Regions from separate parts of the Homo sapiens genome. Here regions 1, 2 and 3 are each linked to region 4. Evidence: promoter capture Hi-C in human tissues and cell types (Jung and others, 2019). All regions are on one chromosome and are shown on one strand. The core of a region is centred on a gene start or on the middle of the fragment in contact, and the rest is flanking DNA. Distances in the headings are between cores, read along the strand shown. Region 1 has its middle 11 kb from the start of IRF1. Region 2 overlaps RAD50 (RAD50 double strand break repair protein). Region 3 overlaps CARINH (colitis associated IRF1 antisense regulator of intestinal homeostasis). Region 4 holds the start of SHROOM1 (shroom family member 1).

The links. The method cuts DNA at HindIII sites, captures the fragments that hold promoters and counts their contacts. A contact is called where the count stands out against the background at its distance.
Region 1: a fragment that was not itself captured here is called in contact with the fragment with the promoter of SHROOM1 in region 4 in 1 of the 25 tissues and cell types used here (IMR-90 fibroblasts).
Region 2: a contact is called between a fragment that was not itself captured here and the fragment with the promoter of SHROOM1 in region 4, in 2 of the 25 tissues and cell types used here (hippocampus and lymphoblastoid cells).
Region 3: a contact is called between a fragment that was not itself captured here and the fragment with the promoter of SHROOM1 in region 4, in 1 of the 25 tissues and cell types used here (heart right ventricle).

The regions. Positions count from the first base shown.
Region 1 is chr5:132,478,397-132,481,096 of GRCh38, reverse strand. No RefSeq gene overlaps it. Among named protein-coding and RNA genes, the nearest start is that of IRF1, 11 kb to the left of the region's middle. RefSeq lists enhancers at 1,516-1,765, 1,776-1,825. The HindIII fragment of the contact is 3,842 bases long and covers 1-2,700 here.
Region 2 is chr5:132,564,566-132,567,265 of GRCh38, reverse strand. All of the region lies in intron 2 of RAD50 (RAD50 double strand break repair protein), which reads right to left. Among named protein-coding and RNA genes, the nearest start is that of RAD50, 8.9 kb to the right of the region's middle. The HindIII fragment of the contact is 5,353 bases long and covers 1-2,700 here.
Region 3 is chr5:132,431,908-132,434,607 of GRCh38, reverse strand. The region is part of intron 2 of CARINH (colitis associated IRF1 antisense regulator of intestinal homeostasis); the gene reads right to left. Among named protein-coding and RNA genes, the nearest start is that of LINC02863, 6.5 kb to the right of the region's middle. The HindIII fragment of the contact is 9,906 bases long and covers 1-2,700 here.
Region 4 is chr5:132,829,263-132,831,962 of GRCh38, reverse strand. It overlaps SHROOM1 (shroom family member 1), which reads left to right and starts at 1,316. Exons shown (of 10, transcript NM_001172700.2): 1 at 1,316-1,369. RefSeq lists silencers at 1,008-1,427, 1,638-1,947. The HindIII fragment of the contact is 17,651 bases long and covers 1-2,700 here.

The DNA of each region.
Region 1 (2,700 bases), core at 151-2,650, 350 kb after region 4:
ATGGCAGTAATACGTTGCTTAGGAAACAAAAGCTCTATGGACACATCTTCCACCTTCTCAGTCCCAGAAACCATATGTACTGTGACCCCGCTCACTAGGCCCAGCCCTCGGGAAGAGTGTGGGCCCTTGAAAAGGGAAGACTGAGTGAGAAAATGATGAGAAAACTACAAAATGGGCAGAGGTCAGTCTGACACATTCATTCTCTGTCAAGCTCAGGAAGTACTGGTCCCTGATCTTGGAGATGCTGTGTGAGTGGCAGGGGGACTCCTGCTGGGTAAATATTCTATATGTGGATGCCTGGACAGGCCCCTATCCCAGGCCCTGCTTGTCAGAAGCTCCCCTTGGGCCGAGCGCGGTGGCTCACACTTGTAATCTTGGCACTTTGGGAGGCCGAGGCAGGTGGATTGCCTGAGTTCAGGAGTTCAAAACCAGGCTGGGCAACATGGTGAAACCCTGTCTCTACTAAAAAAAAACTAACCAGGCGTGGTGGTGCATGCCTGTAATTCCAGCTACTAGGGAGGCTGAGGCAGGCCAATCACTTGAACCCAGGAGGTGGAGGTTGCAGTGAGCTGAGATCACGCCACTGCACTCTAGCCTGGGCAACAGAGCGAGACTCTGTCTCAAAAAAAAAAAAAAAAAAGAAGTTCTACTTGGAAGCTCCACTTGGATTTCTCAAGAATAGCTTCACCTGGGAACAGAGGAATAGACAGGATGGACTTTTCCAGCTCCTTCAGGGACCAGCCCTTTTTAAGATTTGGATTGAGGTGGCTAGCCACCTGTGGCTTCCATCTGGGTTCTCCTAGTGGGTGATGGCAGGTGGTGCAGAGCAAGGTAGAGTGGACTGACGGGAGGAAAGTGATACCACCCAGAACAAGCAGCAGCTCTGACTTCTTTTTCTCCTGCCCTTCAATCTAATCCCTGATGGAGGGTAGGCAGTGAGTATGTGAAGTCTTAGGCAGCTGTGGAAATCTCTCAAGTTCTAAAAGCAAAGTTAATTGCTTGTAAATTACCAAAAAGAGAGAGGAATTATGTCCATCAGCTTCCAATCTCCACAACCAAGATGTAGTCCTCAATTTCCCCATCCCCTCTGATCCCAGGAGTCCTAAATGATTGGTAGCAATTGCTTGGAATCTCCAGGGAGGGACCTCAAAACTCTCCCCTGGCCCCCATCACAATGGAGCTGGGTCCTAGGGACCAAGCCTGGAGTAGTGTGGGATAGAGCCAGACCTTTCAGGATGGAGAGCTGTCCCATCACATCCTACCAAGACTTCAGCCTTTTCCTAGGAAAAGAAACTAAATAAGGTCTGACAGCTCACCTAAAGGTGATGGCAGCTGACACTACCGAGTCATTAGCCAAACAGTGCCTGAAACGGAGCAGTATTAGTAAGATCTGAACCAAGTTTGTGCTTAATAATTAGATCATTCTAAGGACCTGACAGTGCTTCTGTGGGTCATTCTCAAGAGTTTCAGTATAAGCACTAATGGTGGAAGTTCTAGGTTGAGGGAGCTAGGAGGTTGTTGAAAGATCTGTTTTGCTGGGGTTGTGATGAGATAACTGTCATCAAGGACCACTTTCCACTGGGGTAAACTGACAAAAGTGGTGCTCAGCCACACCAGCTAGATTTCTCATGTTGGGCCAAGTTTACAGACATTTGCGGGCATTTGTGGTTAGTCATGGGTTTCCTTGCCTTAACTCCAAAAGGGTATAGCTGGCTGGTCACTTTCATTGGGCTGGTTTATTCATTCAGCTCACTTGGCAATAGGAAGAAAGCTAGAAGCTAATAGGCAAACCATCCCTTCTTGGTGTGTCAGCTTTCAACATCTCTCAGTGCACTGTGTGCAGGGTGTTGTGACCATTACAACTCCAAAGGAAAGAGCTTTCTCTGATTTTTCTGGAAGTCTCCAGTGGGGCCTGCCAAAGTGGGAACTGAAATCCTGGGGTAGCCCTGGGAAGTGGAGTTTTTTTCTCTAGGAGTGATGTCTCCTGGTTGGTGGGGCTGGGAAACAGCCAGGTTGTCATTCTCTGGGACCACTTGATCTTTCACACTGTGTACAGATCCAAAACTCTGCCCTTATACTTGGAGGGGAAAGGGGGTACAGATGTCCTCCAGGCAGTCCTGTTGGAGCACCCAGGGCTAATATAGTGACCCTATAGAAAGCTTTTGTCTCTGTCAGATGTAATGCTGTTCCTTAACTTGGGCACAACTGATCTTCCAATTCATCAGAACTCAGCACTAACCTTTCCCCAGTTCTGCTGGCTGTCACAGAGGAAGGAGGCCTGGGGTGGGAGAAGGGGAAGCTGGTGCCCTCCTTTTCCAGGGGTGAAAGTACTTGGCAGGGTGGAGCTTGGCTTTATCATCCGGAGCTCCCTTGTGGGGCCAAGTCTAAGGCCTCAGAAGGGTATAGCTGGCTGGCCGCATAGTTTTCCTAGCTCCAGGCAGCTCTCAAGAGACCCATTTATGCTGGTTTTCTCAGGGTAAGGAGTTACAGAAGTCCACCTCTGCTGGCTCAGTGGTAAGACACAAGCCTGCAGAGTCTGCTGAGTGAAACTTCAGCTGGGGAGATACTGGAGGCTATGGAGCAAGGACATGGGGACTGAATGAAAGAGGGGAGGCAGACGTCCAGCCCACCATTCCTCACCCAAGGAGATGATCCCACAAGCTCACAAATGAGCAGAACTGGAAAAGACCTCAAAGTGTG
Region 2 (2,700 bases), core at 26-2,525, 260 kb after region 4:
TTCATCTTGCGAGTATAAGTGTGATACTCATTATTTTGTTGCAACCCAAATCACAAGTACTGGATTCTGCTTTAAAAAAAAAAAATCATTAAAGATCCTTTGCTGACTTTTTAATGACTTCTTGGCATGAATTTAACTTTGATACTAATTCAATTAATCATTCAACAAATATTTACAGGCACTTTGTAGGTTTCATGTGTTGTTTTGGTTCAAACTGACAGACTTTTTTTCCTTTGAAGCATGCAAGATAGGTTAAATGTAGACAAGGTGTGCTAAACACCATCATAAGCACAGGATAATCTGGGAGTACAAAGCAGGAGCATCTAACCTATCTAGGACAGCTCAGGGAAGGTAGTCTAAAGGAAGTGAATGTTTAAATGAAACTTCTACCAATCTGGGTAGAAGTTAACCAGATGAGAAGATCTGAGTCACTACGTGACTACAGAAATTTCAGAATGTTTGGCATAGAAAGTAGGGAAAAGAAGAGTATCAACCTAAAATGTTTCAGAAATTAACAGCCTTCTAAACTTGGTAAGGCTTTTGGATTTAAGGTGATGGCACTAAATGGTTTGAACCAGGGGAATTGCATGAAGTAGATATGCATTTTAGAAGAATTATTTTGTCTTTAGGGTGAACAGAGTGAACTGAGACAAGACATGAAGCAGGGAATAATCGAGGAGAGATAGGAAGGCAGCCTGGACAAGGGTTGAGGATGGAGGTAAAGAGGAAGAAGTCGCTGAACTGGCTACTCAGAAACAGCCTCTTAGGATACAGACATTTCAATGAGGAGGTGGCCAGAGGTCAGTATAAAGCTTTGAAAGCCCAGACTTGACTCTGTCATTTCATCATAAGGAGAGCATTCTGCTGAAGGTTTAATCCACAGTAGTTGAACTAAGGAGCTATGTATTTATGCAGCAAAAAATTAATTTGTTTACAGTGTTCCTGAGTAGCAAGCCAAATACACATACTCTTTCTCCATGGCATCTACTTTTCGAGGACCTAGCTACCCGGCAAACATCAAATTAGTAAATAGAATTCAAGCAAGGGCTATCTTGTAGCATTTCTATCACTACATTGTTGTTGACACTCTTATTGAAGAAGAGTCACTTCAAAAGTGAAGTGTAATTTAGATTGAATTATTAAAACAAAGAAATGTGTATTATACTTCAGAACAATTTCTATCAAAAAGAATAAAATAAAAAATAAGAAAAACCCTTCTTTCTCCAAACAATCTAGTTGTAAAACCATTAGGTGGGGCAGAAGAAGGTGCGTGTTCATGCCAGCTGAAGGTTAAGGCACCTATAACTCAGCCTAGAGTGGAATAAATGAGCTTGAGTAGGCTGAGAAGGGTACCCTCATGGGGAAACAGCTTGGCATAGACAGAGTTTCAAGAGTCCAATGGTATCAGAGTTCCAGCAGGATGAAAGAGGAATCCACAAATAGGGGGGATCCAGCTCAGAAGCAGAGTGTCCACGCCAGGGAATAGTGTGGGGATTCAGAGCCTGATAATGATGAGAAGGGGGCCCACCTGAGGGTTAAGTCGGCTAGGGGGAAGTCAGATCATAGAGTAGAGACGGCATTCTTGCAAGAAGCCACCTGGTATAAAGTATCAGACTGAGAAGAGTGACCCTCTCAGTGACACAGATCTGGGGAGATTCAGGTCAGAGTACAGTGGGCATCCCTGCAAGAGGCCACCTGGTATCAGAGAAGGGCGGGGAATGAGGACATGATCTAGCACCAGAAGTCAAAGTGTATACAGAATGGAAAAGCATCCCATGAGGGAGTCAGAATGAAGAGTCAAGAGCCTACGCAGGATAAGGAAGACTGGCATACAGGGATGGAGTCAGCCCATATGAGGTGCTAGGGCCCTGATGCAACGATGAGACATTGATTACATACAGGAGGATTGATTAAGTCAATATATTAAGATTATGGTTGTATAAGTACATTCTTGCACTGCTATAAAAAAAAAACCTGAAACTGGGTAACTTATAATGAAAGGAGGTTTAATTGGCTCACAGTTCCACATGCTATACAGGAAGCAAGACTGGGGAGACCTCAGGAAACTTACAATCATGGCAGAAGGCAAAGGGGATGCTGGCACATCTTACATGGCTGGAGCAGAAGAAAAAGAGTAAAGGGGGAATTGTGACAGATTTTTAAACAACCAGATCTCATGAGAATTTACTCACTATCATGAGAACAGCAAGGGGGAAATCTACCCCCATGATCCAATCACCCCAACCAGGTCCCTCCTGCAACAAGTCCTGCAGACTTCTGCCTGGACATCCAGACGTTTCCATACATCCCCTGAAATCTAGGTGGAGGCTCCCAAGCCTCAACTCTTGTTCTCTGCGCAACCCCAGGCTTAACACCATGTGGAAGCTGCCAAGGCTTACAGCTTGCAGCCTCTGGAGCAGCAGCTTAAGATATATCTGGGGCCCTTTTAGCCATGGCTGGAGCTGGAGTGGCTGAAACACAGGGAGTAGTGTCCTGTAATGGGAGGGGCTGCTGTGAAGATCTCTGAAATGCCTTCTAGCCATTTTCCCCAGTGTCTTGGCTATTAAACATTCTGCTCCTCTTTACTTATGCAAATTTCTGCAGCCGGCTTGAATTCCTCCCCAGAAAATGGGTTTTTCTTTTCTACCACATGATCAGGGTGCAAATTTTCCAAACTTTTATGCTCTGCTTCCCTTTTAA
Region 3 (2,700 bases), core at 115-2,614, 400 kb after region 4:
ACTGAGAAGGAGCTTAGATGAATGTTTGGGTTTTGCTGACAGTGAGGAGCCACTGAGGTATTTTAAACAGGGCAAGCCATGGTCAGATCTGAGTTTCATAAAAGCAATTCTAGCACTAGGGTGAAGAGCCGGGGGGTGGGGAGACAGGGAAGCAACAGGCAATGAAAAGACCATTTAAAAGGACACTGCACTGATTGGTACAAGGTTTCAACAAGGGGCAACTGGAAGTATATACAACTTACTATGTATATACCCTTTAACTCAACAGTCTCAATTGTAGAAATCTATTTTATAGAAACACTAGCACAAATGCATAAAAGTATAAAAATGAGGATGTAGTGGCCTATAAATATTATCAGGACATTGAAAAACTTTGTGGTCATCTGTAGGGGAGGAGATGAACTAGCAGTACATCTACGTGGTGGAATACATACCAAGCAGCCTTTAAAAAGAAGACAGCAGGTCTCTATGTACTGTCATAGAGAAATATACACAATAGACTGCTATTTGTAAAAAGCCGGTTGCTAGCCGGGAGTGGTGGCTCACGCCTGTAATCCCAGCACTTTGGGAGACTGAGGCGGGTGGATCACCTGAGGTCAGGAGTTTGAGACCAGCCTGGCCAACATGGTGCAACCTTGTCTCTACTAAAAATACAAAAATTAGTTGGGCGTAGTGGCGGGTGCCTGTAATCCCAGCTACTTGGGAGGCTGAGGCTGGAGAATCGCTTGAACCTGGGAGGTGGAGGTTGCAGTGAGCCAAGATTGTGTCACTGCACTCCAGCCTGGGCAACAGAGTGAGACTCTGTCTCAAAAAAAAAAAAAAAAAAAAAGCCAGTTGCTGTACAAAGTATATAGCATGCTCCCATTTTCATGAACAAAGCTGTGCATACGTATATTTATAAAGATCCACATTTGTTTGTATAAATAAGTCTGGAAAGAGATATATCAACTGTTGACAGAGGTCACCTCTTGAAGGTGGTAGGGCTTTCACTTTTTACTTTCTATGTTGTTTTTATTTTCTTTGGTGCTTTTCTATAATATATTTTCTACTTCTTAAAATGATGAAGATGGTTCATTTCTCTTATCAGAACACAAAATTTTAATTTAAAAAGCTTCATATCTACTTGGAAAACCATATAAAAATTCTTTATATTGTATTTCCAGAGAAGAAATAACAAAAATCTCCTAGAATCGTTGAGAGGGCTGTCAGCGGCCTGGTCTCGGTAAAGAGAAATTAGAGATGAGTTGGAATAGAGCCGAACACAGGGTGGTGAAGACAGAAGTTCCAGAAGAAGCCAAGAGTGCTATCTTGAGTAGTGGGCAGGTGACCCACAGAAGGGCGGTGGGTGGGAAGTAGGAGTGAGAGGGGTCTGTGCTGAATGTGCCAGCCTTCAGGAGGCTCAGGCCAGGACAGGGTGTATAAACAAGAGGTGACGCTGGCTCCTGCTTTAGAACTCAGGAGAGTATTTAGGCCTAAACACTTATGACCTACAAAAGATTAAAAACTTACCAACAGTACTCACCAATGGACTAAAACGCTAATTGTAAACAGTGAAGTCATTGAAAAACCAGAAAAATATTGGTGAATACTTATCTAAGGGGGGAAGAATTTTGGATAAAAGAGCAAACAGCATTTTAAAGAAATTTTAGCCATATTAAAAACAAACACCAAGACTTTAAAAACAGAACTCATAAACAAAATCAAAAGACAAGCAAAAACAAGGAATTATATTTACAGCAACACTGACAGAAAGGACATGTCCTTCATATATAAAAAACATATGGTTGGGTGTGGCTCATGCCTGTAATCCCAGCACTTTGAGAGGCCAGCATGGGTGGATCACTTGAGGTCAGGAGTTTGAGACCAGCTTGGGCAACATGGTGAAACCGTGTCTCTACTAAAATACAAAAATTTAGCTGGGCATGGAGGCTTGCGCCTGTAATGCCAGCTACTCAGGAGGTTAAGGAAGGAGAATCGCTGGAATTGAGGAGGCAGAGTTTGCAATGAGCTGAGATTGCACCACTGCACTCCAGCCAAGGAGACAGAGTGAGACTTCATATAAAAAAAAAAAGCAAAAAACAAAACAACAACAACAACAAAACCCAAAAAACACAGATGAGTTTGTAATCAGTAATAAAAATACACTCTCCAAAGAAAAACAGCACTGGAGCTGGGCATGGTGGTATGTGCCTGTAATCCCATCTACTCAGGGGGCCAAGGTGGGAGGATTGCTTGAGCCCAGGAGTTCAAGGCCAGCTTGGGTAACACAGCAAGATCCCATCTCTATAAAAAATAAGTTAGCCAGGTATGGTGGTGCACACTTGTAGTTCTAGCTACTCTGGAGGCTGAGGTAAAAGGATTGCTTGAGCCCAGGAGTTCGAGGCTGCAGTGAGCTATGATTGTGCCACTGCGCTCCAGTCTGGTTGACAAAGCAAGGCCCTGTCTCTTAAAAAAAGAAAGAAAAAGAAAAACAGCATTGATTATGGTATTGTGTATTATAAACATTATTTTGTATTGGTTAGAATTTTGTTCAGTTACATAAAACAGAAAACAATAGTGGCTTAAGCAAGATGGGATTTTCTTTCTTTCTCTCACTGAAAAAAAAGGTCTAGAAATGATCAGTTCAGGGCTGGTTTGGTGACTTCAGGTGTCACCAGGGACCTACGCTTCTTCTGGCTCATCCTGCCCCTATTCCTAAAG
Region 4 (2,700 bases), core at 67-2,566:
GCCACTGCACTCCAGCCTGGGCGACAGAGGGAGACTCTGTCTCAAAAAAGCAAAACAAACAACAAAAGTCTTTCAAAGCCGAAAGGTTCTTAGGCACTGTCTTAAAGCCTAGCGCTCCAGCTGAAGCTGGTGCCTGAGTCCAGATGGTGTTGAAGAAGGAGCAGGGCCCAGCGGGCACCACTCTCAGAAGTCGGGCTCAGGTGTCTCCTGCCTCCGAACCCAAGAAGACCCAAGAAGACAGAGTTCCTCAGGCTCCCAGTGTCCCTAGGAAGTGGCAACCTTGACTCTTGGCCAGAGTTCAGAGTCCTGGTTATTAACACCAATAAACCTTTATTTGCCAGGGATACTACCATGGGAGGACACAGCCCCTGAGCCCAGCCCTGTTGATCCTGTGGGAGCGGGAGGGCAGCGGAGGACAAAGGCAGAGACCTGAGAGCCGGAGAGGCTCATCAAAGGGTCCCCAGCCCCTCTCAGGAACGGAGCATTTCTTGGCAGAGTGGTATTCATAGGACAGAGTTTGGGAAGTCGGGGCAGGGGAGCCTGAGGACACAGCAAGGAGAGCTCAGTGGCAGGTGCAGGCAGAGCGTTCTTTGGAAAATGGAGATCCTGGAAGGTGAGGGCCTCGAGCGCCAGTGTCCAGCCTTAGTGGGTATGCATATGTCCAGCTCCCTAAGGACACACTCAGGACAGCTAAGGTGCACACAAGTCCAGGGGCTTCCCCGTGCTCCGCCCCCCTCTCCCCCACCCCGGTAGCAGGCTGGAGGGCCCAGACCATGCTGGGTAGTGGGAGAAATGGAAAGAAATGGGACAGGGAACAGGAGACAAGAGCCCATGGTGGGAGTCAAAGAGCTGGAAGAGTTTTGGAAATGGGGGTCTGGGGGTAGAGTTGATCAAGGGCCGAGTTACTCAGCGGGACAGGTGGGAGGCACGAGGCCCTGGCAGCTCTGTTTTCTTGGCCGGGCTTGGGGGGGAAAGCGGGTAGCCGTCAGGCGCCTAAGGGCCCGCCCTGGACCTCCCCACCGAGGGAGGTGTCAGGCCCCGAGGGACCCGGCCCCCGAGCATCACGGACGCGCTGGAGGCCGGTGGGCGGTCGCCGTAGTCGCCCTCCCACCACCTCGCTCAGGTTTCTCCGGCCTGGGGCAAGAGGCCTGTGGCCCGCGCGGGAACGCACTGTCCACCCTCAGACCTGGGACTGGGCCGGCGCGCGGACGCTACCAAGAGGCTGCGGCTCCCGCCCCCGCGGCCGGACGTGGCGCCTCCCCTGAGGCCGCGGCCGGAGCCTGGAGGTGGGGTCGGAGTCAGAGCCCGGGGCTCTGATGTCACCGCGCGGCTGCGACGGCCCAGGAGCGCGTCTCGGCGGGAGCCTCAGGTACGCGGCGGGGGCGGGGGAGCGGGAAGCGGGCGGCTGGGTCCGCTTCCCCCGGGAGGCCGGCGGGGCTGCGGGCGGACGGGGGTGAAGAGCGGGCGGCGAGGCGGTGGTCGCGGGGCAGCCCGGGCATCGTTCGGCCGGGACGTGTCTGGCTCGGCGCCGCGTCAGGTTGCGCCAGTGGAGTCGGACCCCAGCGCGCCTCTCCCAGCTGCAGAGCTGCAGGGCGGAGAGGCGGCCCACTCTAAGCTGGCGGCGCGGCTCAGGGGCGCGGCTGGGCGCGCCGCGTGTGGCGCCGGCGGGCAGCGCGGTCTCACTCCGCCACCCTCCGCTCCTGCCCTTTGTCGCCAAGCATCTGGAGAAGCCGGGTCCTTCCCTCCCGGGCTCGCGCTGTCCCCTGCGCGCGATCCTTCCCCGACGGTGAACCCAACGGGAAAGGCCCAGAACTGCGCGGGGCTGCGGCCATCTGCTGTCGAGCCGCTCCGCGTGTCTCTGCCGCCCCCTGCGGCCGCCGGGGCCTGCGCCTCTCTCCCTCCCGTGCCTCGGCTCCCAGAGATTGAACCCCAGGTAACCGGGTCTGTCCACGCCCGCGGCCGCCTCTCCCCGGGTGTCGCCAGCTTCCTGCATTTCCTGTGCATGGCACGGAGCTCGGGTCTCCAGAGACTCTGCATCTGGGGTGCAGCGACCGATGAGCCCGTAAACCAGTCGCACACTCGGAGCGTGGATGCTGCGTGGGGTGCGCTGTCAGCGCGGACAGGCTGGGAGAACGGGGGACGCTGGGGACAGGGAGAGCCGGTGAACTTCCCAGAACGTCCGCCTAGCCAGACCCAGCTGCGGGTACTGGGTTTTGAGACGTGGTCCAGTACCCAGGAACTCAGTCTGACAGGGAGACAGCGCCTACACAGTGAGCCCAGTACTGAGGGAAGACCCGCTGGGAGGGGCGGCCTGGATAGCCCCTCCACAGAGAGGTCAGATGTGAGGTGGCCTTGAGGGAGGTATGATGTAAATCCTGATCATTCGTTGTATTTGAGGCTGTCCGTTCTCCTGTGCCTCCTCGGTCGCCTTACTTGGATCTGTTCCCATTGCCTTGGTGTGATTTTATCCACCGGAAACTGTCTTCAGCTATTTCCCCAGTAACCTCTAACTAAAAACCTGGGTCTTGCCTGGTCTACCCTCCCCTGCTGAACTCCAGAGCCACATCCCAACTGCTGCCTGACTTGTCACAGACACCATGAAGCCCAGACTGAAGGAGCACTGGCCCCCTTGACAATTCCTCAGCCCCAGCTCCTCCTTTCAGACTGGTGCCTCCACCTGCCAGACCCCTAGCTTTGAAG